Linked DNA regions of Homo sapiens: all the other regions are linked to region 1. The links are contacts of gene promoters, found by promoter capture Hi-C in blood cells and fetal thymus (Javierre and others, 2016). All regions are on one chromosome and are shown on one strand. The core of a region is centred on a gene start or on the middle of the fragment in contact, and the rest is flanking DNA. Distances in the headings are between cores, read along the strand shown.

Evidence for each region. Contacts are between HindIII fragments. The CHiCAGO score rates a contact against its expected background, and 5 or more counts as called.
Region 2: a fragment that was not itself captured here is called in contact with the fragment with the promoter of PEX26 in region 1 in 1 of 17 cell types (total B cells); the score reaches 6.6 in total B cells.
Region 3: a fragment that was not itself captured here is called in contact with the fragment with the promoter of PEX26 in region 1 in 2 of 17 cell types (fetal thymus and total CD8 T cells); the score reaches 6.5 in fetal thymus.
Region 4: a contact is called between a fragment that was not itself captured here and the fragment with the promoter of PEX26 in region 1, in 1 of 17 cell types (erythroblasts). The highest score is 5.2, in erythroblasts.
Region 5: a contact is called between a fragment that was not itself captured here and the fragment with the promoter of PEX26 in region 1, in 2 of 17 cell types (erythroblasts and megakaryocytes). The highest score is 5.8, in erythroblasts.
Region 6: a contact is called between a fragment that was not itself captured here and the fragment with the promoter of PEX26 in region 1, in 7 of 17 cell types (erythroblasts, total B cells, megakaryocytes and 4 more). The highest score is 6.7, in erythroblasts.
Region 7: a fragment that was not itself captured here is called in contact with the fragment with the promoter of PEX26 in region 1 in 6 of 17 cell types (megakaryocytes, total CD8 T cells, non-activated CD4 T cells and 3 more); the score reaches 7.2 in megakaryocytes.

Annotation. Positions count from the first base shown.
Region 1 is chr22:18,075,763-18,079,883 of GRCh38, reverse strand. It overlaps PEX26 (peroxisomal biogenesis factor 26), which reads right to left and starts at 1,894. Exons shown (of 5, transcript NM_001127649.3): 1 at 1,278-1,894; 2 at 1-10. The coding sequence starts at 1,507. LOC105372853 (a long non-coding RNA gene) reads right to left here. Exons shown (of 6, transcript XR_001755424.2): 6 at 1,988-2,226. RefSeq lists enhancers at 1,071-1,120, 1,601-1,830, 2,161-2,220 and a silencer at 1,481-1,530. The HindIII fragment of the contact is 13,258 bases long and covers 1-3,015 here.
Region 2 is chr22:17,593,760-17,597,880 of GRCh38, reverse strand. ATP6V1E1 (ATPase H+ transporting V1 subunit E1) reads left to right here. Exons shown (of 9, transcript NM_001696.4): 8 at 3,265-3,352. Among named protein-coding and RNA genes, the nearest start is that of SLC25A18, 32 kb to the right of the region's middle. The HindIII fragment of the contact is 2,631 bases long and covers 492-3,122 here.
Region 3 is chr22:17,620,833-17,624,953 of GRCh38, reverse strand. All of the region lies in intron 1 of ATP6V1E1 (ATPase H+ transporting V1 subunit E1), which reads left to right. Among named protein-coding and RNA genes, the nearest start is that of ATP6V1E1, 5.9 kb to the left of the region's middle. The HindIII fragment of the contact is 4,013 bases long and covers 1-3,958 here.
Region 4 is chr22:17,646,527-17,650,647 of GRCh38, reverse strand. The region is part of intron 1 of BCL2L13 (BCL2 like 13); the gene reads right to left. Among named protein-coding and RNA genes, the nearest start is that of BCL2L13, 9.8 kb to the right of the region's middle. The HindIII fragment of the contact is 1,652 bases long and covers 1,613-3,264 here.
Region 5 is chr22:17,675,539-17,679,659 of GRCh38, reverse strand. The region is part of intron 2 of BCL2L13 (BCL2 like 13); the gene reads right to left. Among named protein-coding and RNA genes, the nearest start is that of BCL2L13, 39 kb to the right of the region's middle. The HindIII fragment of the contact is 1,754 bases long and covers 1,100-2,853 here.
Region 6 is chr22:17,705,444-17,709,564 of GRCh38, reverse strand. All of the region lies in intron 6 of BCL2L13 (BCL2 like 13), which reads right to left. Among named protein-coding and RNA genes, the nearest start is that of MIR3198-1, 57 kb to the left of the region's middle. RefSeq lists enhancers at 3,133-3,182, 3,203-3,252. The HindIII fragment of the contact is 711 bases long and covers 1,800-2,510 here.
Region 7 is chr22:17,721,538-17,725,658 of GRCh38, reverse strand. The region is part of intron 6 of BCL2L13 (BCL2 like 13); the gene reads right to left. Among named protein-coding and RNA genes, the nearest start is that of MIR3198-1, 41 kb to the left of the region's middle. The HindIII fragment of the contact is 1,833 bases long and covers 753-2,585 here.

The DNA.
Region 1 (4,121 bases), core at 645-3,144:
CTCCAATGAGCTGTCAGCAGAAAAACCAATTTCAGTTAGAAGTGGTTCCCCTCCATTTCCATTCCCACCTCCACCTTGGGACTGTTCCTCTCCAGCTCCCAACTCAGCAGCCATCATCTCTCTCATCCCTGTTAGTATTTAGATGGGCTTCACAATTGGTCTCATGGGCTGCCCTTTCCCCCAGGAACTAAAAGTTCCTGTAACCCTCTTTCAAGAGGCAAGTCAGCTGTTGCTCAACGTTCATCTTTGTATCCAGGTGAAATCAGATTTAAATGAAGAGGAAGGGTAATCCTGAGGGGGAAATAACACACAGCACCGGTGTGTGGCTGAAAAGAGAGCTGGAACTAAGAGTTTGCTCTGTGAACAAATGGGCTTGGAGCAAGGTTTCTGGCTGAGTGGAGGTATAGACTCCATAGCTGGCTAAAAGGCACCACCTAGTAAGGTTCCTCCAGACACCCAGAAGCAAAGCCTTCTGCATTCACTGAAATGAGCTCCCACCCAGTCCCCTAAAACACAGCCAGGGCTCTCCAGATCATCCTTCTTTGTGGTCAACTTTAGCTATTCTACCTACCACCTCCCTAGCGTGGCCTAACCCAAGTTTACAATGCAAAGAAATGACTCCCTCACCTGCCAGACGAGGCTGGTGGCATTAGAAAGAGCAATGCAAGCCCAAGGTTTTTTTCTCCGGATTCTTTTCTTTTTCTTCTTTTTGGTAGAGAAGAGGGCTCATTATGTTACCCAGGCTGGTCTCGAACTCCTGGGCTCAAGCAATCCTCCTGCCTCGGCCTCCCAAAGTGCTGGGATTACAGGCGTAAGCCCCAGCTCCCGGCCCTGAATTAATTCTTTAATCCAGTCCTCTAATTGGACCAGAACGCTGCTCCTGCCATGACCCCCATTCCCCATCATCAGCCAAGGTCAGGAATAAACAACCTTGGGCGGGGCGGGGAGGGCGGAGGTACCTGGGAGAGGACTTTTACCACCTGCTTACTGACAGAACTTAGCACTTAATACACATTCAGCCTTCCCATCATGTCATTGTACCTTGGAACAAGGAGCAAATAATTGGCTGTGGGATCCCCACTAAGTTTTTGTTACACGACTTCCCTTCTCTGTAGAATGGGCACACGATGAGCGACCACCCTCTCGGAGACAAACCACTGATGAAAGCGAGGTGTAAAGCTCCTTGTGGGCAATCTGGGAAGGACAGAACTCCTGAGACCTTGAGCCCCACCACAAGAGCGCCCGGAAATCGGTTCATTTCCGAGCCCAGCACGTACGTGCCCGCGGGTTCCTCTGCCACGGCGTGGTTGGCCAGACTCTGCCAGGCCCGCTCGCAGGTCTCCAGCGCCGCCCGGAAGTCCAGGTGCACCACCAGGAGGTCGGCCGCCTCCTCCAGAAGGTCCACGGCCGGCGCCCGGGCCGGGACCGCGCGCACCGGCTCGCTGCTGCGCAGGGGTCCCCCGAGCCCCCTGAGGGGGGCTGCAGAGGTCGAAGAATCGCTCTTCATAACGAGTCCGGGTCCAAGGCCCAGGTCCTCAGACGTCGGAGTGACCGCCTCCCCAGAGGCTCCGGGATATCCCGAGTTGGCCTGGGCGAAGAGGGAGAGTCCTCATCTCTTTGCCCACACCCCTTCCCGAGGTCGATTCCCCGAGAAGGAAAAGGAAGGGGCCTATCTGAGGCAAAAGCTGGGCTCGCCTGGAGGCTGGGGAAGCAGTTTACACGTCAGATTTGCAGGATTCTTGCATCCCTGGAATACCTGGCCCTAGCTTCTCCGGCCCCGCGACACGTGCAGGAACTGCCTCAGCTCCGGGCTCCTGGTTACGATCAAAGACTCACCTCGCCTCCCGGCAGCGGGCGCGGACATCTTTGCGCTCGCCCAGCCCCGCAGCCGCGCGGCGTCCCGGCGGCGCGGAGTACTCTAGGAGTTGTAGTTCCTCAGCTCTCGGCCCATCGCCTTCTGTAATGGAAGTAGGAGGCAGAGCGCGGACTACAACCCCCAGCACGCCGCGCCCCGGAAGCCGCCCCTGTGCCGTGAGAAAACAAACTGGTGCTACAGCTTCGGGGTGCGGAAGTCAAAACGAAGCAAAACCGAAGCTGTCTTGTGAAATGGAGGGGTCCTCACTAACCAGTTCCAGCGGAGGCTAACGGAAGAAGTGCCAGCAATGGATGTGCAGCTACATGCACGCTTTTAATTCAGAGCTTCTGCGACGGTGGCGATCAGGGGATCTGTAATGTAATGTAATGTCAAGGCTGACGCAGAGCTGATCAAACATTTTGGCAACCTTAGTCTTGAATTGATTCACACTTTCTCCGCGTTGCCTCCGGAGTTTGCTGTAGGGTAATGAATATTGCCTGGTGAGGATGAGGGACTTAGGGTGGAAACCTTCACAAGGACCACTGAGAATATGTTGGTCCCAAGGGCAATGTTCCAAAATGAATAGTGACCCCACCGAGGCGGGGTTGGGGGCGCTGAGCATAAGGGCCTCATTTTTCTCACTGCTCTCTGCCCCATCCTGAATTTGCTGTTAAAAAACAACGTTAAATGCAGATACCAATTCCACTTCCCCACTGTTGTCACTTCCGATCTGTCTTTATATTTCTCCTTATCATTTATCACCATCTACATACCAATGTCTATATTTTACTTATTTTTATTGTCTATTTCCTTCCACTATGATATAAACTCACAAAGGCAGACGTTTTTGTCTCTTTTGTTCACTGTGGGAACCTCAATGCCTTGAACAGTGCCTGTCATCTATAGGTAGTCAAAAAGTATTTGTGGAATAAATGAAGTCCTGGTTTCACTTTTATCTGGTTACAGGGTCCAGACTTCTCTTTCCTCGGAGTCTGGTGGACTTGGTTCTGCCTCAGCTTCCCATGCAGACTTTTCTGCAAGAGAACGGAAATCCCAGAAGATGGATGTGTGCATGTCTGGTGACAAGGGCAGGGGATGTATGATGTGAGCAGGTGCCTGTTTAATCTAATTTCTAGGAGAGCAAAGATTCTAGGGAAGCTTTGGAGTGAATTCAAAGGGTAGAGAACTGGGGAGAAACTAAAGCCAAGAGGATCTAGTACAAATGTGGGAAGCTTGGCAAAGCCCGGGTGAAACAGAATATAATAATAAGTGTGATTTGTGGATCTGTTTAAAATTATTATTATAGTTACAATTTACCAAATACTCTGTTCCCAGTACTTTACTATAAAGTGCATTATGTACGGTATGGTTTTGTTTTTCACAATGTCCTTATTTTACATTGTGTAACTTGCTCATGGAATGACTGTGTATCCCCTGAATAGCAAACATACTTAGTTCTGTCCCTGCAGAGCAGAGTAGAGCTCAATACACATCTTTGAACCAAAAGAGCCTCGGTTTGACTGAGATTTTGTCGCTTACTAGTTGTGTGACCTCGGCAATTTATTTAAATAAGCTCTGATTTCCTCACCTGTAAAATTGGGATAACAGTTTGTCCTTAGCTCCCAATGGCTGAGGGAAGAATTAAGTAATATTGCGCATAAAGCGCCATGCGCATTAAGCACTGAAAATGTGAGCCAGGCCTGGGAAGACGAACATGCTCAGAAGCGGCCAGCTCTAAGCGGCTGCTGCCTGGAAAAGTCCCTTTCCTAACAAATTTCTTGCTATTCCAAATTTGTCCAGGAGATGGAGGCACAGTCTTAACAGAAGCAGCCTTGCTAAAAGTAAATTTGCCTATTTAGTAGTGAGACAGCCAGAATGAGGTCAAGATATTTAAGGCAGGAGAGAGGAGAGCTAGAAACCATATAAAAATATGATTGTATTCCATTTCTGATTCACCCAATTTTCAACTATTCCCGGGCTTCATATCAGTCCGTATGTAACCACTGTTTAGCACTATTATGCCCACAAATGGATTCCTCAACACACATCCAGTGGGACACATCATCTCCTCTATGTCTACAAGTACTTAGACTTTCTCAAGCGAAGACACAGAAATCCTAAACAGAAGCGAATTCATTCCCTCTGGGGGAACATAAATGCGTATTGTCTTTACTTAGCCAAACTTCTGTCTCTAAGTTGGAGCTCATGGGACAGCCTTTGAAATCATCTCTTCTGTCATTTCCTCATCTTTGAGACAAAAAACACA
Region 2 (4,121 bases), core at 558-3,057, 480 kb after region 1:
ATGGCCTAGGGAGCTAGACTCCCTATCATACCAGTCCACCCTCTGCTCATAGTCCAGTCCTGTCTCTACTAAAAATACAAAAATTAGCTGAGCGTGGTGGCGCACGCCTGTAGTCCCAGCTACCCAGGAGGCTGAGGCAGGAGAATTGCTTGAATCCAGGAGGTGGAGGTTGTAGCGAGCCAAGAACACGCCACTCACTGGACTCCAGTATGGCGACAGAGCAAGACTGCATCTCAGAAAAAAAAAAGTCTGGTTTATGGTCACTGCTTTCCTTCTGCGGGGAGGTGGCCCCCAGAATGAAAGCTAGGACCAGATCTCTGTATTGGATGCTGAGGTAGATACTCCCTTCTTCTAAGTAATAGTTATCAAAACAAGAATTGTGTATGCCTGGTAGTTAGGTTCCTTAGAGATAGAATTGCAAGTATGAGTGGTATTTTTATGACTGTGAGGAAATGACAGAACATTTCTGGGATCAGTGTTCCTAACAAGCTTTGTGTAGCTGGGGTAGGCAGTAGAAACTCCTGACAAGGGGAGAGCCAGTGTCATTTTCTCGATTTCACTGGCCTGTCTGAGGCCACCTAGCCACACTACTGACTAACATTGAAGAAAGTACCTTGGACACTTTTTTTTTTTTTTTAAGACAGGCAGTCTCACTCTGTCACCCAGGCTGGAGTACAGTGGCATGATCTTGGCTCACTGCAACCTCTGCCTCCCAGGTTCAAGCGATTTTCCTGCCTTAGCCTCCTGAGTAGCTGGGACTACAGGCGCCTGCCACCACGCCCAGCTAATTTTTTTGTATTTTTAGTAGAGATGGGGTTTCACTGTGTTAGCCAGGATGGTCTCGATCTCCTGACCTCGTGATCTGCCCGCTCGGCCTCCCAAAGTGCTGGGATTACAGGCGTGAGCCACCATGCCTGGTGCCTTGGACACATTTTGAAGTTAGCTGATTATCACACTTAGGAATGTAAGACCTAGATTTGAGTCCTATCTTGGCCTTTTGCTACTATGGGACCTGGAGACTGAATTCATCATATGTAAAATAGGATCATTGCTTTTTGCTTTTTTGTTTCATGCAGTGAAGAAAAAAAGATGAGATAGTACATGTGAAAATGCTCTGTAAATGGAAAAAGTATATAAACTCATAAGATATGCTGTCAGAGTTGGGTTAGATTCCTGATTCTGCCACTTACTACCTGGGTAATCTTGGACTCGTTTATTCAGTTTCATTGAGTGGTGTCGTCCATTTAGTGTTGCTATAACAGAATACCCGAGGCTGGGTAATTCATGGAGAAAAGAGGTTTATTTGGTTCATGATTCTCATGGCTGGAAAGTTCAAGATTGGACAGCTGCATCTGGTGAGGGCCTCAGGCTGCTTCCACTCATGGCAGAAGGTGGAAGGGGAGTGGGTGTGTGCATAGAGACCACATGGCGAGAGAGGAGGCCAGAGAGCCTAGGGAACCAGACTCCCTATCATACCAGCCCACCCTCTGCTCACAGTCGAGTCCTGCCGGAGCTAGAATCCAGGCCCTCGCCACAGTTCATTGCCTCGGGATCTGCCCTTGAGCCCTGAACACCTCCTACTATGCTCCACCTCCCAACACTGCCACATTGAGAATCAAATTTCACCATTAGTTTCTGAGGGAACAGACTCAAACCATAGTAGTGAGCCCTGATTCCCTTATCTGTAAATTGACGTATTAGCACTAACCTCATAGCATTTTTTATCTTATTTATTTATTTATTTATTTTTTGAGACAGAGTCTCACTCTCACCCAGGCTGGAGTGCAGTGGCACGACCTCGGCTCACTGCAAGCTCCACCTCCCAGGTTCACACCATTCTCCTGCCTTAGCCTCCCGATTAGCTGGGACTACAGGCACCCGCCACCATGCCTCGCTAATTTTTTTTGTATTTTTAGTAGAGACGGGGTTTCACCTTGTTAGCCAGGATTGTCTCAATCTCCTGATGTCGTGATCTGCCCACCTCGGCCTCTCAAAGAGCTGGGATTACAGGCGTGAGCCACCGCACCCAGCCTCTTTTTTTGTTGTTGTTGTTGTATTTTGAGTAAGGGTCTCTTTCTGTCACCCAAGCTGGAGTGCAGTGGTGTGATCTCGGCTTGCTGCAACCTCTGCCTCCTGGGTTCAAGCAATTCTCCTGCCTCAGTCTCTCAAGTAGCTGGGACTACAGGCACGCCCCACCATGCCCAGCTAATTTTTGTATTTTTAGTGGAGACAGGCTTTCGCCATGTTGGCCAGGCTGGCCTCAAACTTGAGTTTGGGAGCACCTCGGCCTCCCAAAGTGCTGGGATTACAGGGGTGAGCTACCACGCCCGGCCAGCAGTGGCATCTTTTATCAGACACACATGCAGTCGTGATAGGGCCTCATCAGTAATGAGCAGGATTGGGCTTAAGAAAACATTCAGATGAGGATTGAGTGATTTGCAAACTGAGATGAAATCCTCTCTTTTTCATTTTGTTGGGGAGGGCTGGCTGTGATAATTAAAACAGGTTTTGTAACATAAAATCAAATTGACACAGGCTGGGCGCGGTGACTCACTCCTGTAATCCCAACACTTGTGGAGGCAGAGGTGGGCGGATCACCTGAGGTCAGGAGTTCAAGACCAGCCTGGCCAACATGGTGAAACCCCGTCTCTACAACAATACAAAAATTAGCCAGGCGTGATGGCAGGTGCCTGTAATCCCAGCTACTGGGGAGGCTGACGCAGGAGAATTGCTTGAACTCGGGAGGCAGAGGTTGCAGTGAGCCAAGATCGCACCATTGCACTCCTGCCTGGGCAACAGAGCGAGTCTCAAAAAAAACAAAACAAATTGACACATAGTGTCACTTGGTAAATGACAGTTATTGAGATGAATACAGTCAGTTCTCTGTATCTTTGGGGTCCACACCTGTGAATTCAACCAACTTTTTCTTTTCACTCCCTAAACACTACGGTATAACAACCATTTACATCGTATTAGCTATTTTAAGTGCTGTAGACATGATTTGCAATATAGGGGAGGATGTGTGATGGTTGTATGCAAATACTACGCTGTTTCATATAATGGACATCTAGGCGGGGACTGGGGTTTCCTGAAACCAACTGTGCGTTACATCTTCAGAAGCTTTTTCAGTTCCTTTCAAGCCTGTTGCTTAGGTTGCGCAGTCTACACACCAAGACAAGGGCATTCCTCTGCGGGAGTAAAGGGTACCATGTATCTTTCTCAAGTCTTTGAAAATGATTATTTCCTGTGCTTTTTTTTTTGCAGAGCTGGTGGAGTTGAGATCTATAATGGAGATCGTAAAATAAAGGTTTCCAACACCCTGGAAAGCCGGCTGGATCTCATAGCCCAGCAGGTGAGTGTGGGGGTACTTCTTGGTAGTTGGTCTGCTGTTACTTTGAAGTGGGACAGAGAACACGTGTCCATTCACTGGTATTTGGGATTTGTTGCTGTCTTTCCAGTTTTGGACATTTTCTCAAAAAGAATGAGAATTGGGCATGTAGTAGCATTTGCTGAGGTGGTAACATTTACATGAGGGTGAATTTGGGGTCAGAACAAGTGTTTTGTTGACCTAGGATTCGAATATGTACATTTTACTACATGTAAGGTGCTGACAAGTTCTTTCTCTAACAGGAGTGATGGGAACTAAAGCAAATACTTGTGTTTTTTTGTTTTGTTTTGCTTTTTTGAGATGGAGTTTCACTCTTTTTTGCGCAGGCTGGAGTGCAGTCTTGGCTCACTGCAACTTCCACCTCCCAGGTTCAAGCGATTCTCCTGCTTCAGCCTCCCGAGTAGCTGGGATTACAGGCACCTGCCACCACACCCGGCTAATTTTGTATTTTTAGTAGAGACGGGGTTTCACCATGTTGGCCAGGCTGTTATCAAATTCCTGACCTCAGGTGATCCACCCGCCTTGGCCTCCCAAAGTGCTGGGATTACAGGTGTGAGCCACCGTGCTCAGACACAAATACTTATTTAAAGGAATTATCATAAAGCTGCTGGCTTTTCAGATGTTTCCAGATTTGTACACAGGAACTCTAGGAAACAAGCCAGGAAAATTCCATTTGTTCTAAAATGCTGGGCATCTTCTAGACTTCTAGTGGGAGTCTATTGCTGTGGCTGCC
Region 3 (4,121 bases), core at 703-3,202, 450 kb after region 1:
ATTCTCTCCCTCTTGTTCCCTTTCTTCCCTCCTTGTCATAATATATTGAAGACTAAGGCTTCCATAGGAAAAGCTAGTATAAAGATAAAGCTATAGTTCCTTGGAATCTAGATCAAAATGATTTTTTTTTTTTGAGATGGAGTCTTGCTTTGTCGCCTAGGCTGGAGTGCAGTGGCGCGATCTCAGCTTGCTGCAACCTCTGCCTCCTGGGTTCAAGCGATTCTCCTGTCTCAGCCTCTCCAGTAGCTGGGACTACAGGCGTATGTCACCACACCCGGATAATTTTTTTGTATTTTTAGTACACATGGGAATTCGCCACGTTGGCCAGGCTGGTCTTGAACCTCCGAAGTGGTGGGATTATAGGCGTGAGCCACTGCGCATGAGTTATTTTTTCTTTTTTTTGAGACAGTCTCGCTCTCTTGCCCAGGCTGGAGTGCCATGGCGTGATCTCAGCTCACTGCAGCCTCTGCCTCCCGGGTTCAAGCGATCCTCCTGCATCAGCCTCCTGAGTACCTGGGATTACTGGTGCCCGCCACCACACCCAGCTAATTTTTGTATTTTTAGTAGAGATGGGGTTTCACCATGTTGGCCAGGCTGGTCTCGAACTCCTGACCTCGTGATCTGCCCGCCTCAGCCTCCCAAAGTATTGGGATTACAGGTGTCAGCCACTGCACCCGGCCTATTTTTTATTTATGTAAAATTGAAAGAAGGAATCTTGTCTATTTCCTATAATCCTTCATGCTACATGAAAGCTCGATGAGGACAGTGTGTGTTGTTTACTGTATTCTCATAAGTAAATAGATGAAGCACCAAGCCCATAGTAGATGCTTAATAAATCCTGAATTTTCTGACTTCTCCATTGCATGAAAATATTTGTGTATATTTGCTTTTTTCCTGGGGAGTATGGTAATTTATTTCATCAAATTTACAAAGAAACCTGACTCTAAAAACCTTAATTACTGAGCAGGAAGAAGAAACTGTTTTTTTAAAGGTCAAATTTTCTGCCTTAGGGGTGGAGTTAAATGTCCTTAAAGGGTTGACTATATCTCTTCTTGGAACTCTTAAAAGAATATGATCATGTTAACTGTAAATAGGCTTCTGACCTGGGTTAGAATTAGCGCAGTTTGCTCTAGGCTGTGCTGGTCTGGTCAAATCTGGTAGCCAAGGGTGCAGCAGAGTGCTAAAGGCAGATAATCCAGGTCCGAATCAGGGTTCACCTTTAGAGGCCAAACTTGTAGCATTTATAAACACCGGTTTTGATTACTGTATTTAGTTAAATGACTTTTTTTTTTTTTTTGAGACAGAGTCTTGCTCTGTCACCCAGGCGTGATCTTGGCTTGCTGCAACCTCCACCTCCCAGGTTCAAGTGATTCTCCTCCATCAGCCTCCTGAGTAGCTAGGATTGCAGGCACCCGCCACCACGCCTGGCTAATTTTTGTATTTTTAGTAGAGACCAGGTTTCACCATGTTGGTCAGGCTGGTCTTGAACTCCTGACCTCGTGATCCACCCGGATTGGCCTCCCAAAGTGCTGGGATTACAGGCGTGAGCCCGGCTAGTTAAATGACTTAAAATTCCAGATAGAATAAGTTCAGTGAGACTTCAAACTAAACTTGTAGACACCATTACCATGACCCCTCTCCATACTCCCAAATTTGTGGAGCTGATCTTTTAAGCAAGGTCAGTGATTTCCCACACATCTAGGTCTGGATTAGGTACCCCAAGTATTTCAAGGCTCAAGATATTGTAAGTACCATGTTATCTATAACATAGGTTTGATCATCATAACTTTTTGTCTCCTTAAAAGTAGGATTGGAAACACGATGGTGGCCACAGAAGTTGGAATCCACTGAGTGTGTAACAACTCACCTGCCAAAATAAGAAAAAAAAGAAAAGTAGGGTGGCTCCAAGATTTTTGATAAAACAAAAAAACTGTCCCTTCTAAAATCCTCCTATATGTTTTTTGTTTCATTTTGTTTTGTTTTTTTTGAGACGGAGTTTCGCTCTTCTTGCCCAGGCTGGAGTGCAGTGGCACAATCTATGCCTACCACAACCTCCGCCTCCAGGTTCAAGTGATTCTCCTGCCTCAGCCTCCTGAGTAACTGGGATTACAGGCATGCACCACCACGCCTGGCTAATTTTTTGTATTTTTAGTAGAGATGGGGTTTCTCCATCTTGGCCAGGCTGGTCTCAAACTCCCAACCTCAGGAGATCTACCCACCTTGGCCTCCCAGGGTCTTGGGATTACAGGCATGAGCCACCATACCCAGGCAGTAGTGTTTTCTTTTCTTTCTTTTTTTTGTTTCATTATACTTTAAGTTCTGAGATACATGTGCAGAATGTGCACAGGTTTGTTACATAGTGATACGCGTGCCATGGTGGTTTGCTGCACCCATCAACCCATCATCTACATTAGGTATTTCTCCTAATGCTATCCCTCCCCTAGCTCCCCACCCAGTAGTGCTTTCTTAATTCGTTTTGGTACACCTATGTATACTTAAGATTTATGATATCTTGTGTTATATGGAGAAGCTGCTATGGGGATTGTTTACAGATTGTTAAACCCTAAAAAGTACCTGGGATACCTTGTATTCCTTAGAAGTCTTGAAACTCCCAACAGATTTGCATTCATTCACAAATTTTTTTGAGCATCTCCTATGGTGGTGGTTGTTCCATGTTCTGGGTTCACACTGGCATAAAAGACAAGATCCCTGTACTCAGTGGTGCTTACCTTTTAGTGGGATAATTAATAAACAAAATGAATTAATGACCTAAAGATCCTACGTCAATTTTTAGCTTTTTTTTCCTTTTTGGATTTCATCACTCCCTTAGGAAATGAAGCTACCATTGCATCCCACAACCAGTGAGTTTGATGAGCTGTGTCGGTTGGATTTTTACTTGGGTATATTTTATATCTGCCACAAGAGATGATACTTCATTTATGAGTCTAAGTTGGATTATTCCCCAAGCCCCATTCGGAAGCCTTCATTGGACTTTATTCTCCAATTGTAGCCGGTGATCTAGGAACCTTTAACAAGTTCCTAGCCTCATAGTTCAGTTGAGGATAGGGACAAATAAGCAACAATTACAAGTTTAGGTGCCGTGATAGAGGAAGTACAAAGTACTCTAGGTACAGGAAAGATTTCCCTAAGGAGGTGATAGTTATACAAGCTGAGGCCCAAAAAGTTAGAAGGAAGAATGTTCCAAATGGAAGGAACAGCATGTTTGAAATCTTGGAGATGAGAAAGAATGGTGAGCTCAAGGAACTGAAATAAGTTTAGTATGGTAGGAACTAAGAGTCTGAAGATGGTGAGTAGTGAAGGGTTTGTTGTTTCATATGATGCTTGAAAGGTAAGCAGTGGGCTGAGTACGGTGACTCACACCTGAAATCCCAGCACTTCGGGAAGCCAAGGCAGGAGGATCGCTTGAGCCCAGTAGTTCAAGACCAGCCTGGGCAACATGGCAAAACCCCTCTCTACAAAAAATACAAAATTAAGCTGGACGTGGTGACACGCACCTATGGTCCCAGCTACGGGGGGATCGCTTGAGCTGTAGAAGGCGGAGGTCAAAATGAGGCGGGATTGTGCCATTGCACTCTAGCCTGGGAGACAGAGACCCTGTCTCAAAAAAAGACAGATAAGCAGTGATAAGATCCTGTACCTTCTAAAATCTTTATCTTAAGCGGGGGTAGAGTGTTACATGATAAGATAGGCATTTTGAAAGCATCTCTCTGGTGGCAATGTAGAGTCGATTAGAAACAACAAGAATAGCGGCAGGAAGACAAATTTGGAAGCTGTTGTAGTAGTTTAGCTGAGAGGAGATGATGGCAAGGACTATGGTAGTCCCTCCGATGATGGAGCGAGGTGGGCAAGGTAAAGAACTATTTTTTTTTTTGAGACAGAGTCTCGCTCTGTCGCCCAGGCTGGTGTGCAGTGGCGCGATCTCGGCTCACTGCAAGCTTCGCCTCCCGGGTTCACGCCATTCTCCTGCCTCAGCCTCCCAAGTAGCTGGAACTACAGGCGCCCGCCACCACGCCGGCTAATTTTTTGTATTTTTAGTAGAGATGGGGTTTCACCCTGTTAGCCAGGATGGTCTGGATCTCCTGACCTCGTGATCCGCCCGC
Region 4 (4,121 bases), core at 1,189-3,688, 430 kb after region 1:
AAAAGAATATTCAATATACTTTCAGACTTGGAAAAGGAAAATCACCTATTATTTTTAGACTACAGACTATAGAAGGTAAGGCTCAGTAAATTTTCAGTCTTCTTTGCAGCAGTGATTCTCAGTGCTGGGACAAGAAGGAAAAATAACGTGCCTCCCACCGCCAATGCCACCAGAATAGGAGCCACAGAAATTTTTATTTACCTTATTTTTAATAAAGGAGACATAGGCTACAAAACATGTTCAAAAATACTGGTATAATCTTAAAAAGAACACATTAGAATCCACTAACATTTAAGGGGTAGTCAAAAGATGAGAAGCTGGAAGAGGAACCCTTTCAGTCCAGATTGAAACAGAAAGGTAGAAAGAAAACCAGGAAAGACTGTAATCACAGAAGTCAGGGAGGCACTTCAATAAGAAGGCAGTGAACAACTGTGTCAAACGTAGTAACATGTCAAGAAGAATGAAAATAAGAAGAGTCAGCCGGGCGCAGTGGCTCATGCCTGTAATCCCAGCACTTTGGGAGGCTGAGACGGGCAGATCACCTGAGGTCAGGAGTTCGAGACCAGCCTGGCCAACATGGTGAAACCCCATCTCTTCAAAACTATGAAAATTAGCTGGGCATGATGGCAGGCGCCTGTAATCCCAGCTACTCAGGAGGCTGAGGCAGGAGAATCGCTCAGAGCAGGGAGGCGGAGGCTGCAGTGGGCCAAGATTACGCATTGCACTCCAACTTGGACGACAGAGCAAAGCTCCATCTCAAAAAAAAAAAAAAAAAAGAAAAGAAAAAAAAGAGGGGAGAATAGATAAAATTAATAACAATCTAAGCTTTTGGAAGTCTCTTCAGCGGCCAGGCACAGTGGCTCACGCCTGTAATCCCAGCACTTTGGGAGGCCGAGGCGGGTGCATCACCTAAGGTCAGGAGTTTAAGACCAGCCTGGCCAACATGGTGAAACCCGGTCTCTACTAAAAATACAAAAATTAGCCAGACATGGTGGCAGGTGCCTGTAATCCCAGCTACTCAGGAGGCTGAGGCAGGAGAATCACTTGAACCCGGGAGGCAGAGGTTGCAGTGAGCCAAGATCGTGCCACTGCCCTACAGCCTGGGCGACAGAGCAAGACTTCGTCTCAAAAAAAAAAGTCTCTTTAGCAACAACCCTCTTTTGCTAGAAAATAAAAAAGTCTCAGTATTTCTTTGGTAGCAGGAAGAAGAAAGTATTTACATTTTGAATAAATGCTTTAAATTAAAAAATTGGCCCGGCGTGATGGCTCACGCCTGTAATCCCAACACTTTGGGAGGCCGAGGCAGGCGGATCACCTGAGGTCAGGAGTTCCAGACCAGCCTGGGCAACCTGGTGAAACCCCGTCCCTACTAAAATACAAAAATTAGCCAGGCATGGTGGCGTGCGCCTATAATACCAGCCACTCCGGAGGCTGAGGCAAGAGAATTGATTGAGCCTGGGAGGCAGAAGTTGCAGTGAGCCGAAATCATACCTGCACTCCAGCCTGCGTGACAGAGCTAGACTCCGTCTCCCAAAAAAAAAAAAAATTGAGCCGGGCACAAGTTCATGCCCATAATCCCAACAATGTGGGGGGCTGAGGCAGGAAGCAAGCTTGACCCCAGGAGATTGAGGCTGCAGTGAGCCTGTGATAATACCACTGCACTCCAGCCTGAGCGACAGGGTAACACCCTGCCTCTAATTAAAAGAAAAAAAAATTGATATTCTCTAATTTGTTGTATTCAAATTTGTTGTATTTATCAAGAATCCACATCACTGAAGTCGTTTGCCAACCCAAAAGCCAGAGACAAACTACAAATCACTAAGTTTCCAAATTTGATTTTTAGCCTAATGTTCCTCAAATTTTCTTATAAAACCTGATTGTGTAATTATAAATGCAATCTTAATCATGAATTTCATCATCTTCCACCTTTAACTCTAGTATATATGCTAAAGCCCATATATCTATATATTTGGTGAAGGATTATATTTATTCATTTAAATCTAGTATACAGTTTTCAGACTTTAAATGCATATTTGTTATTCTGGTTATAAACATAACAGACCTACAGTATAAAACAGCCATGCAACTTTTTTTTTTAATTTTTAAATTTTTTGTAGCGATGGAGTCTCACTATGTTGCCCCAGCTGGTGTCAAACTCCAGGCCCCAAGTGATCCTCCAACCTTGGCGTCCCAAATTGCTGGGATTACAAGCGTGAGCCACCATATCTGGCCCCAACTTCTAATTTAGCTTGAGCTTCCAGTTGTGTAGCAATGCAGCAGCTCCTTCAGGACTATGGTTAAATGGGGAAAAGTCAGATCCCAAGAACACTATTATGTAACTAGCACATTTATATTAAATTATAGGACAAAGGTATTGATAACAGGCCAAGTGTAAACTCCACAGCACTACTACAGGGTTATGTCTCTAAGCACAAAATGGGAGAGGACACCCACTTCCTTTGCAACATTCTGCAGTGTCTAATAAGTATATTGCACAATGAACTTTTGCATTTCTTTTTTTTTTTTTGAGACAGAGTCTCTGTCGCCAGGAGTGCAGTGGCATGACCTCGGCTCACTGCAACCTTCGCCTCCTGGGTTCAAGCGATTCTCCTACCTCAGCCTCCCAAGCAGCTCGGACTACAGGGGTGTGCCACCAAGCCCGGATAATTTTTTGTATTTTTTAGTAGAGACGGGGGTTTCACCGTGTTAGCCAGGATGGTCTCGATCTCCTTATCTCCCGATCCGCCCACCTTGGCCTCCCAAAGTGCTAGGATTACAGGCGTGAGCCACTGCGCCCGGAGGGACTTTGGCATTTCTAATAAACATCATATATAAATTACATCTTCGTGACATCTGTTTCTAAAGCATTTTTCTATGTGTTGTCACAGTAATCCTCTATACTTGAATGAAAATTTTATAGATGGAGAAACAAGAACAATTTATTTGCCTAAAATCATACAGCTAGGTAACAGCACAACCACTTAATTGGGTACACCGTCTTCACTTCCTCTTAGACCTTAACTGTATTTATTCAACACATATTTACTATATGCCAGGTAATGTACTAGGTGAGAGGAATGCAGAGGTGAAAACACTAACACTAGTAATACGGAAGGATACGGTAGCAAAACAAGGTGGTTTTTGTAGTATCACAGATCCAGAGTACTGAAAGAAGCAAATTTGTCAGTTTTGAGAATGGACGGGGGGAAAAAAAAGCTAGATTGGATGAAAGGTAATTATGACGCGGGACCATCACCTAAAGCTTTTGTAGAAGCACTTTGGGAGGCCAAGGCAGGCGGATCACGAGGTCAGGAGTTCGAGACCAGTCTGGCCAACACAGTGAAACCCCGTCTCCACTAAAAATACAAAAATTAGGCCAGGTGCAGTGGCTCATGCCTGTAACCCCAGAACTTTGGGAGGCCAAGGCGAGCGGATCACAAGGTCAGGAGATCGAAACCAGCCTGGCTAACACGGTGAAACCCCGTCTCTACTAGAAATACAAAAAAATTAGCCAGGCGTGGTGGCAGGTGCCTGTAGTCCCAGCTACTTGGGAGGCTGAGACAGGAGAATGGTGTGAACCCGGGAGGCGGAGCTTGCAGTTAGCCAAGATTGTGCCACTGCATTCCAGCCTGGGTGACAGAGCAAGACTCCATCCCAAAAAGAAAAAGAAAAAAAAAAAAAAAAAAAAAAAATATATATATATATATATATATATGTAGTTTATACACACACACACACACACACACACACACACACACAAATTAGCTGGGCGTGGTGGCAGGCACCTGTAATCCCATCTACTCTGGAGGCTGAGGCAGGAGAATCACTTGAACCTGGGAGGCAGAGGCTGCAGTGAGCTGAGATTGCACAACTGCACTCCAGCCTAGGCGACAGAGCTAGACTCTATCTCAAAAAAAAAAAAAAAAAAAAAGACAGATATTTCAAGATTCTTTTCAAATGATGAGAGGGACATATAGTTACCTTTACTCATTGAATTTTATCTAATAGGACCTCTTAAAATTCAAGTTAGTACAAGTGTTCTTGGTATCCAGAAGTGAGTAAATACATAGATGATCTTAACTATAAAAATTGCTATCTTGGCCAGGCGCAGTGGCTCATGC
Region 5 (4,121 bases), core at 727-3,226, 400 kb after region 1:
TCTTGAATAATTTTTTTTTCTTCTACTTTCAGGTGATTTCAGTACTACAGAACATTTAAACAAAAAATTTAGGATAAAAAGAGCCAAACCAGCCAGGCACAGTGGCTCACGCCTGTAATCCCAGCACTTCAGGAGGCCAAGGCGGGCGGATCACCTGAGGTCAGGAGTTCAAGACCAGCCTGGCCAACATGGTGAAATCCCGTCTCTACTAAAAATACAAAAATTTGCTAGGCATGGTGGCAGGCGCCTGTAATCACAGCTACTCGGTAGGCTGAGGTGGGAGAATCACTTGAACCCAGGAGTTGGAGGCTGTGGTGAGCAGAGATCGCACCATTGCACTCCAGCCTGGGCCACAAGGGTGAAACTGTCTCAAAAAAAAAAAAAAAAAAAAAAAAGAGCCAAACCAATTGACATATGCAGCAGAATCCACATTCCCAGGACATGGGCCAGATTCACAATCACATCAATAATCCCAGCTTGGTTTTTAGCCAGAAGCATTCAGGGAAGTCAAGATAATTCAGAGTCATCCTAGGAATCTCACTCATTTCTGGAACTTAAATTCAGACTTACCTGAACACCCAGAGGATGCTGAATTGTATACTTAGCAACTAACCTTCTGTTAGAGGAGAGTGGTTTTTCATTTCCCTAAAGACTTGAGATAAGTAACTTGTGGGGACAATGAAGCCCCTACCTGGGTGTGGGGGAAGGGCCCTGCAATCAACTATACTCCACCATGCAAGAATTTCAGCAGAAAAACCAAACAAGCTAACAAAAAGCAGCATGAACTGGGCCACTAAGTTGCAGGTCTACCTACTATTCATTTATCCACTGAAGAAACATTGACTACCTGCTATTTATCAGGTATGTCCTGAAGCATCTACGCAGCACAAAAATGAGTAAGATTTGTCCAGCACATGAAACTATTTATATAGACTGGGGAAGTTCAGGAAGGGCAGGACAACAGCAAGCATTTACAAAGTACCTGTTACTTAACAGGCACGGTAGTAAACATTTCCTATGTGTTATTTCATTTAATTTCCAAGTCAACCTTATGAGGGATGAAATAATAGTTCCATTTGAAGATGAGGAAACTGAAGCTTGGATAGGTTCTACCACTACCATAAAGAAGTTATAATTGGAACTCTGGTGAGTCTGACTACAAAATCGTTAATCCAGGCTGTGCTCTCGTCATCTTCTGGTTGGGTGGCTAGGAATGAAAGATCTCAGAAACATTTCTGACATGATTAAATAGTTAACAGAGAGCAGAAAGGCTGTCTATATCGGTGATACTGTCTTCTGACAGGGACTTTCATGTCCCCTTATTTAATCTTCACTTCAGTTGGGTGTGGTGCTCATGCCTGTAATCTCAGCACTTTGGGAGGCCGAGGCAGAAGGATTGTTTAAGTTTAGGAGTTCAAGAACAGCCTGCGCAACATAGCTAGACCTTGTTTCTACGAAAAATAAAAAAAACTAGCTGAGCACAGTGGCATGTTCCCATCGTCCAAGATACTCGGGAGCCTGATGTGTGAAGATCACTTGAGCCTGGGAGGTCGAGGCTGCTGTGAGCCATGACTGCACCACTGCACTTCAGCACTTCTATATATTTTATGTTTCTAGACAGGGTCTCACCCTGTTGCCCAGGCTGGAGTGCAGTGGCACTATCATGGCTCACAAGAGCCTCAACCTCTTAGGCTCAAGCGATCTTCCCACCTCAGCCTCTCAAGTAGCTGGCACTACAGGTACACACCACCATGCCCAGCTAATTTTTGTGGGGTTTTTTTGTTTTTTTTTTGAGACAGAGTCTCGCTCTGTCGCCAGATCATGCAATGGCGCGATCTCGCCTCACTGCAACCTCTGCCTCCTGGGTTCAAGTGATTCTCCTGCCTCAGCCTCCTGAGTAGCTAGAACTACAGGTGCACACCACCACACCCAGCTAATTTTTGTATTTTTGGTAGAGACAGGGTTTCACCATGTTGGCCAGGATGGTCTCGATCTCCTGACCTCATGATCCACCTGCCTCAGACTCCCAAAGTGCTGGGATTACAGGTGTGAGCCACCGCGCCCAGCTGTGTGGGGTTTTTCTTTTTTTTGGTAGAGACAAAGTTTTGCCTTGTTGGCCAGGCTGGTCTCAAATTCCTGGGCTCAAGCAGGCCGCCCACCTTGGCCTCCCTCACGCTGGGATTACAGGCATGAGCCACCAGGCTCTGCCTATGTTTTCATTTTTTGCAACCAAATTAAAGAATCCCAAATTCTCAGATGGGCTTTGAATTAATTAATTCTATTAAGGTCAAGAAACTTGATTATTCTATCATCCACAGGTATTTAAAATACCTTTAAAAAACAAAAGGTTAAACATTTTTACGTATCACAGATTCTGATTCATTTTCTACTTTTAAAGCTGACAAAAATAACATGGCTTTAAGCGACATAAAACACTTTCCTTATGAGATGAGACTAACCAAAATAAAATTCAAATCCTTTTATTTTTTTATTTTTTTATTTTTTGAGAATAGGGTCTCACTATATTGCCTAGGCAGGTCTCAAACTCCTGGGCTCAAGCCATCCTCCTGCCTCTGCCTCCCTAAGTGCCAGAATCCTTAAAAGTTGAAATGTAACACAAAGGATCTCCTCAATGTCACCAATAGCATATACTTTGCTTAATGACATTTCACTTACTTCTGCCTAAGTAAATAACTTTGATAAACTACATTCATAAAAACTTGAAAATGTTACATAAAACAATCTATTATGCAAAAATTTGAGGCCAATTTATCCTAGAAAGATCCTATGCCAATTTATCCTAATCTTTATAAATTCTCATAAAGCATAAAAGTCTACCTTTACAGATAAGCTTCTACTAAATCTCCATTACTGTTTATAATTATAACAGGTTTTCCCTTTAGAAGTAATTTGTAGTGTTAGATGGCTCTGCAACAGCACTGATTAATATAACTGCACAAGATACAGTGATCTCCAGAATACATCATGACATTATTAAGTGAAATCAAACACAAGCTCAGAAATTAATTCACGGCCCATGCTATTTCTTGCAATAAAATTCTCTCTTTCCCTTCCAGCTTCCTGGAAAACAGCCGTAAAGTGGTTGATAAGCTTTGGAGTCAGGCCTTCTAACTCTTCACTTGGGCAAGGAAAATAATCTTCTTGACCCTCTCCTCTTTATGATTATTTTTTTAATTGAGACAGAGTCTCGCTCTGTCACCCAGGCTGGAGTGCAGTGGTGCAGTCTCGGCTCACTGCAACCTCCACCTCCTGGGTTCAAGCAATTCTCCCACCTCAGCCTCCCAAGTAGCTGGGAGTACAGGCGTGTGCCACCACACCTGCCTATTTTTTTTTGTTTTTAGTAGAGATAGGGTTCTGCCATGTTGGCCAGGCTGGTCTCGAACTCCTGACCTGAAGTGATCCGCCTGCCTCAGCCTCCCGAAGTGCTGGGATTACAGGCGTGAGCCACCGTCTCTCCTCTTATATAAAATGGGAAAATAATACCCACCACAAAGGGTAGTTGTGAAGAGTAATGAGATAAATGCCCAATCGACAGGTGCTCCCACTCACCAATTCTTTTCATGCTCTAAAATTGTATTATTAGATAATTATCTTTCCTGGCCCCTTATCTCTGTGAACAGAAATTAGCTCATCACAGATTTTTAATCAAAGATGCTTATACAGAACCTGCTTTCCACACTGTGAAAGGTAGGAATAGCAGGACAACCTCTGTCAGTTTAGATAATGCCATGTAATATAAAATAAGGCTGTTTTAACACAAACTAGGAGAAATCTTGACAGGCAGTTATTCTTGCTCTTCAATTGCTGCTAGAGAGAATGGCTTAATATGTGTTGCTTAAATTTGTTGGACATTGCACAACAAATTGATTGGGGAAGTTTTACTAAAAAGCTGTATTCCTGAATACCAGATGTTCTGCAACCTGTTTCCAAGGGTGGCTTGCCTCTAATGGACTTGCCTTCAATTTTTTTCCAGGCTAAGGTAATCTCTGTCATACTCAACAATGTAAGAATTTTGATCAATCACTGTCATAAGCTACAGTGAATGAACGTGCTTTTAAGAGAAATCAATCCTTCTTGTAGCTACTAACACTCCTTCAAAC
Region 6 (4,121 bases), core at 906-3,405, 370 kb after region 1:
GGAGCGCAGAGGCACAATCCTGGTTCACTGCAACCTCCGCCTCCTGGGTTCAAGCAATTCTCCTGCCTCAGCCTCCCGAGTTGCTGGGACTACAGGCATGCACGACCATGCCTGGCTAATTTTTGTATTTTTCATAGAGATGGGGTTTCACCACGTTGGCCAGGCTGGTCTCGAACTCCGGACTTCAGGTGATCTGCCCACCTTGGCCTCCCAAAGTGTTGGGATTACAGGCGTGAGCCACCACGTCCAGCCTCAGTTTTATATTTTTGAGACAGGGTTTTGCCATGTCACCGGGCTGGAGCCTCTTTTTTTTGTTTTGTTTTGTTTTTGAGATGGAGTCTCACTCTGTCGCCCAGGCTGGAGTGCAGTGGCGCAGTCTTGGCTCACTGCAACCTCTGCCTCCTGGGTTCACGCCATTCTCCTGCCTCAGCCTCCCGAGTAGCTGGGACTACAGGTGCCTGCCACCACGCCCAGCTAATTTTTTGTATTTTTTAGTAGAGACGGGGTTTCACCGTGTTAGTCAGGATGGTCTCGATCTCCTGACCTTGTGAGTCACCCACCTCGGCCTCCCAAAGTGCTGGTATTACAGGCGTTAGCCACCATGCTCGGCCGAGCCTCTCTTAATAATTAATGTCATAATGAAGAGCAGGCTTTCACTAAAAGAAAAAGAGCTGTTTTGGATAATATATTACTTACAACTTATCATATTAGAAGAATAATATCTACAAGTAGCCTCGGAACCATTCTAACAATCTAAATAGTTTTTAATACAAAATATTTGTGTTGTTGAGAGTATCTGTCTCTTTGGCTTCACTGACATAAAATGCAAAGGAGTAATTTCGAGGGCTCAAAAATATAAAACTCATGGGATAAACCATGAGTTTAAATATGCACAAAGAAGCAGAGAACTGCGTCTTTTTTGTTTTTGTTTTTAAATAAATGAAGCCAAAGGGTTTGAGTAACTTGCCCAAGGTCCCTTAGCTTGCTATGACAAATTGGATAGCAATAATAGGTAACCCTTATATAATTCTTATCATGTGCCCTTCTAAAGTCTTCACTTCATCTATTGAAACCTCACAACAATGCTATGAGAGGATTATTATTACTTCCATTTCACAGACATGGATACCAAAACAAGTAAAGAAGATAAGTAGTTTTCCCAAAGTAATAAAGCTGGGATTCAAGCCCAGGCAGTTTGCCTCCAGGGTCTGTATTTTTACCAACTATGCTGTCCTACCTCTTAGATGAAGTCCCTGATTGCTTTCTGGTGCTTTTCTGTCTGTAATATAGTACCTTTTGAGTTAATGGCCAGAAGTATTCATAGATAGAACATGTTATACTTGGTGTTTTTTTTCAAGCAAACACACAGATACATGCATTAAACTCTTCAATTAAAAAGGGAAGTAGAGAAGAAACCTAAGTAGATAAAAGGAATATAACAAAATAAATGTAAAATAAAATACAAATATAACTTTGCTTTGGTGGTAGGAACTAAGTAAAAAACTAAGTAAAGGAACGTATCAAAATAAATGTAAAATAAAATACAAACATAACTTTACTTTGGTGGTAGACCTAAGTAAAAATCAGGTTGACAATTGCTCAGAGACCTATTACAAAAATTGGCTGCATCATGATGTCTATATTGATTGTATTTTTTTGTTTCACTTTTTTTTTGGTGGGGGCAGGGGGTCACATCAGTTACAAATTATTCTGCCCCCTCAAGCAATATTTTACCTTCTGAGACACAGCTGCTGCTGAGCTGAGCTCCTATGAACTTAACTTTTCCATCTGAAGAAGCTTTGGCAAAATTCCAAAGCCCATCTACGTTGGTAAATTTTCTAAGGACTCATTTCCCTTAAGATTTATGCCAACAAACCTCTATCATTACTTCTCAGACTTTATATATATATCTGTCAAGAAAAAGAGCTGTTTTGGATAATACGTTAGTTACAACTTACATTAGAATAACATCTACAAGTAGTCTTAGAACGATTCTGACAATCTAAATCATTCTTCATATAAAATATTTGTATTGTTGGGAGTATCCATCTCTTTGGCTCCACTGACACAAAACACACAAAGGCTCCACTGACATTTTGTAACTTTGAGGGCTCAAAAATATAAAACTAGCCGGGATCAACCAGCTAGTTTTATATTTCTGAGGCCTCGAAGTCGCAAAATGGAAACAGATCACTGCTTTGGACCCTTATAACCAAATGCGCCTCTCAGATCATTATTAACCTAAAATAAGAAAATGGAGAGTGCTGAAGAAATTACAGAGAAGTAATTTTCCACCCAACTTGATGAGGAAGATCCACAAAAAACACATTTCAGAGTACAACACAGTAAACATCCACACCCACATATACAGCAGGCAGATTTTCCCAAAACAGTACTTACTCTTACTAAATTGATTTTAGCTGCAACCCACTTCATTAATTTCAGATCATCCCTGTGTGTCACCTCCCACAATATGAAAACTATTCTAACAAATTATTAACCTAAAAGCTTCCAAGAGATAGTCTTTAAATATCCTAGATTAAACAAACAAAAACCTATTCTAAAATCAGAAGCTTCATGTCAAGAGAAAATGACAAAGATTAATTTTATTCAAAATACTTAAATATTACAATAGACAGATGACATTCCCTCCAGTAATCTTTTATGGAATCTAAAAGTAAATCTTTCACAAGAAGTATTTATCATGTGACGACGGAGAAAGTAAAATACAAGCCTTACCACAGTGGACTTGCTCTGCCCTTTCCAGGAGACAGACAGACTTCTAACGTAGCAACACAAGCCCAGGAAATGAAAAGAGAATGAGGAGGGAGGGAGCAAGGATGACTCAGGGAGAATCACAGCACATGAACCAGTCTGTGCCCTCACCGGGCTGCAGGGCAAATAAAAGTCAAAACTGAAACTAAGAGGAAATGGTGATCAGACTTAAGGAGAGGGAAAAAAACCACACTCTTCAGAGACGCATGTGAAAACCTGGCATTTGTAAAAGTGTGACATTTTCACAAAACACTTTCACATCATTATTTTTGTGAGACAGAGAAGCTATTCTTCCCTTTTTGTAGTTGAAACTGAGGTTCAGAGAAGTTAAATGAATCCTTCCAAAACACAGGGCTAGTATTTGGCAGAGCTGGGGCAAGAAACAAATCTTGTGATTTCTAATCCTTTTCTCAGTTCATCATTCGCCGGGTAAAAAGGCAGAGTGAAAAAAAAAAAAAAACAAGGTAGAAAGAGAAAACAGGCTGGGCAAGGTGGCGCATGCCTGTAATCCCAGCACTTTGGGAGGCCAAGCGGGGAGGATTGCTTGAGGCCAGGAGTTTGAGACCAGCTTGGGCAACATAGTGAAACCTCTCTCTGCAAAAAATAAGCCAAGTGTGGTAGTGCATGCACACCTGTGGTCCCAGCTACTAGGGAGGCTGAGGTGGGAGGATCACTTGAGCCCAGGAAGTTGAGGCTGCAAATGAGCCATGATCATGCCACTGTACTCCAGCCAGGGCAACAAAGCAAGACCCTGTTTCTAAGTCCTAGCCATTTCTGTTAATAATTCAGAAAACAAAATATTATTTTTCTCCTTCAAATCTATATGTCCAAAGCCTGCCTGTTCCTAACTGACTATGTGCTATATCACTCCATTCATCCAACAGATTATGGCTGCTGGCACCACCTCCTCTGCTGCAGGTTTTCAAAAGTAGCTGCACCTTGAGAGGTAGGCAGTTTGTTTCACTTGATGTTGTGTTCAAGTGACTAATGACAAATACATTCCCCGTGGAAATCATACCACAGGCTTTATATAACAGACATGCGATATCATGTGGTCAAATGATTCTCTTCTGGAAGGGTTTTAAGAGCTGTCAATGTAATGTTCAGCACACAGTATCTTAAGGAGATTCATGTTGACAGCTTATGTCACAGGATACATTTTCACCAACTGGCATTAAAAAAAAAGCAATATCGGCCGGGCGCGGTGGCTCACGCCTGCAATCCCAGCACTTTGGGAGGCTGAGGCGGGTGGATCACGAGGTCAGGAGATCGAGACCATCCTGGCTAACACAGTGAAAACCCATCTCTACTAAAAATACAAAAAATTAGCCGGGTGTGGTGGCAGC
Region 7 (4,121 bases), core at 420-2,919, 350 kb after region 1:
AGACCTTGTGCTCAAGGAATTTATCACTTAGTAGGGTATACAAATAATGCTATGTCATAGTCCAAGTGCCATTAAGAGTTCATATGGCAGTGTTGCTTTCCTTAGAAGAAGAAGAAAAAAAGTTCAGATGGGAAAAAGACCTCTTTGGGTAGAGGTCAGAGAAAGCAGGGAGATCACAGAAAGCCTCACGGAGGGACTAGCATTTCTATCAGACATCTGAAGAATGGGTAAGATTTTGGCAGGCGAAGGGTACACAGAAGACACAATGCAGGCAAAAGCACAGAGACAGAAAAAAAAGAAGATAAGGACAGAGCCCTGTTTAATTAATGCAGAGTGCCCATGAAGAATAGAAGGTCAGTGAGGACAGGACCATGGAGGAACCTGAATGACAGCTAAGAAATATGGACTTTATCCAACAGGCGATGGTTTGTCACTGACATCTCTGAGGTACAAAATTATAATCAGAGCTTTGCTTTAAAATTCCTCTGATGGCAGAGACAGAATGGAGAAATGCTGCAGACACGGAGACTCTTGCTTCTTTTGTCAGGAAGTCTGAGTGAAAGCAATAAAGCCCTACAGCACAGGCCTTGTGTCCATGTCTATTAATAACAGGCCACCGTGTGCCTACTGCTTATCAGGGTTGTGTCAGGCACAAGGGCTACGAGAAAGAATGGGTCTATTCTTACAGAATTTACTAGGCAGCTGTGAAGCCTGACATATGAATAACTAACTTCAATATGATACAGAAAGCTTTATGACAGGTGTATGCACAAGGGGCTAGGCCAACCCAGAGGGTAAGGCGCAATAAAAGGACAGGAAGAGAACCAATGGAATGGAATGTCACAGAGATGTACAGAAATTGTCATACAAAGGCTAGACAACACTCGTAAAAGCTACAGGGAATCTGAATGGAATATGTAAAGCAAATTAATTTCTACTTCATTTTATGATTATGGTTGCTATTCAACTGAAGTAGGATAATTTCATTCTTCAACCAAAACCAAAAACTTTCTACATACATCAAGGATCTAACATAAATCAAAAGTCTATCAGCCCCATAAAAAAGGAAATAAGAAATACAAATAAATCACACGACCATGATGTCGGCATCATACTGCACCACTTTCTACCTCGACCCTTGCTCCAGCCACTTCAGAGGCCCTGGTAAGCATCAAGGATGTTCTATGAGTATGGAATAATCAGGGGGTTAAAATAATACAGTATGACCACAAAATTCACAGTCAAAAACAACTGGCTTGTATCCCAGCTCCAACTGTGTACCAGCTGTGCGAATCTGGATACCTTGCTTAAACTTTTAGACTTCAATTTCTTCACAAATAAAATGGGGATGACTGACTAGATAAGATTGTTTTTGTTGTATTTTTAGAGTTGGGGTCTCGCTCTGTCACACAGGCTGAAGTGCAGTGGCAGGATCACAGCTCACTGCAGCCTCAACCTTCTGGTCCCAAGGGATCCTCTAGCCTCAGCCTCCTGAGTAGCTGGGAATAACAGCATGGGCCACTGCACTCAGCTAAGTTTTTTTATTTTTTGTAGAGACGGGTCTCTCTATGTTGCCCAGGCTGGTCTCAAACTCCTGGCTTCAAGCAATTCTCCCACCTCAGTGTCCCAAAGTGCTGAGATTATAGGTGTGAGCCACCACACCTGGACTTGAGTTCATTTTTAAAATGAGGTATAGTTTGTTTTTTGTTTTTTTTTGTTTTTTTTTTGAGACGGAGTCTCACTCTGTCATCAGGCTGGAGTGCAGTGGTGCAATCTTGGCTCACTGCAACCTCCGTCTCCCAGGTTCAAGTGATTCTCCTGCCTCAGCCTCCCGAGTAGCTGGAACTACAGGTGCACGCCACCATGCCCAGCTAATACTTGTATTTTTAGTAGAGACGGGGTTTCACCATGTTGGCCAGGATGGTCTCAATCTCTTGACCTCGTGATCCACCTACCTCGGCCTCCCAAAGTGCTGGGATTACAGGCGTGAGACACCGCGCCCGGCCCGAGGTATAGTATTTATAGTGCTTAGATTAGTACTTTGTACATAGGAAGTAATCAGTAAGTTATGCTATTTCATAACTTGCTATTGTTTGTGTTGTCATTTTAATTGTTGTTTTTGGTGGTATGGTGGTAGGACAAAGAGCTATTCTAAAATACCAACTGGATGGGACAATAAGGAAGTGAAAACAAATGGAAACAATACCCTCCCTTGGCTAAAGAAGGTAATTTACAAACTTTTCCTTCCTCCTCCATCTCTTCTAAGCAGAGATAACACAAAACTGTAAAGTAAAATCTGTCTTTAAAAATTACAGTACTGCAGTATACAATTAGGAAAATTGGAGGGCCCATTGGCTTGGAAGAGAGGGCTTCTAGGCCTCCCAGCTTTTGAGGATGACAGCTTGCCCCAGCCTCAGGGTAAGGACCACTGGAATGGTCCAGAAGAGGATGCATTCAGGAGAGGGAGAAAGAGAGAGGGAGAGAGGGAGAGGGACAGATAGAGAGAGACACAGGGAGGGTTTGGTTCAGCTAAGTAAGCAAAGACATGGAGATCCTAACCGGAAGCTGTAATCAGGTCTCAAGCTTACACATTTTGCAAGGATTTTCATTAGCATCATTTTTAATACAGAAGGATTTCAAACAGTCTTCAATACCCTCAGGAAAGTTTAAAAATATATATGGTTCATCCAAACTATTTAACTACTATTAAAAAAGAAGTACATTTTTAAGTCCAATGTGGAAGGAAGCCCATATTGTACAATAACTCTACATAAAAAACTACAAAGTATTATTGAAAGAAATTAAAGATATCCTAAAGGGATATATATATCATGCTCATAGATTGGAAAACTATTGTAAAGATGTCAGCTATTCCCAGATTAACCCTTTGGTTCAATACAATCTCCAATATAAAATCCTACCAGGTTTTTTCTTATGGAAATTGACAACTAATTAATTCTAAAATCTATATAGCAATTTAAAAAGGCCAAGGAATTTAAGCTGATCTTGAAAAACAACAGTTTGAGAGCTGACACTACCAGGTATCTACTCAACCCATTACAAAGGCACACTGATTGTATAAGCATGGTAAGAGCTTAAAAATAGGCAATTAGACCTGGCTGGGCACAGTGGTTCATACCTGTAATCCCAGCACTTTGGGAAGCTGAGGCAGGAGGATCATTTGAGGCCAGGAGTTCAAGACAAGCTTGAGCAACATAGTAAGACATCATCTCTACATACACACACACACACACACACACACACACACACACACACACACCCCTGTAGTCTCATCTACTCAACTCAGGAGGCTGAAATGGGATGATCCCTTGAGCCCAGGAGTTTGAGTCTGCACTGAGCTATGATCGTGCCACTGTAGTCCAGCCTGGATGACAGAGCAAGATCTTGTCTCAATTCCAAAAAAAACAGAGGCAATTAGACCAATTAAATAAAATAGAATCCAGAACTAGATATATAAGGTCACATGATTTGTGGCAAAGATAACTCTGTGGGAAAATGGATGGTATGATCCTATTTACTAAATGCACATATATACATATCTACTTATTTGCATATATTTATACATAATAAAATGTTTATATAAGCAAAACACATGTTTAGAAAAACGTACACCAAACCATTATGAGTTATTTCTAAGGGGCAAGGTAACAAGAAAAGTGTGCATCATAAAAATTTCTTGGCCGGGCGCGGTGGCTCATGCCTGTAATCCCAGCACTTTGGGAGGCCGAGCAGGGCAGATCACGAGGTCAGGAGATCGAGACCATCCTGGCTAACACGGTGAAACCCCGTCTCTACTAAAAACATAAAAAATTAGCCGGGTGTGGTGGCTCACGCCTGTAATCCCAGCACTTTGGGAGGCTAAGGTGGGTGGATCACCTGAGGTCAGGAGTTTGAAACCAGCCTGGCCAACATGGCAAAACCCTGCCTCTACTAAAAAATACAAAAATTAGCCAGGCGTGGTGGCACATGCCTGTAATCCCAGCTCCTTGGGAGGCTGAGGCAGGAGAATTGCTTGAACCCAGGGAGCAGAGGTTGCAGTAAGCTGAGATCGCACCACTGCACTCCAGCCTGGGTGGCATTAAGACTTACGTCTCAAAAAA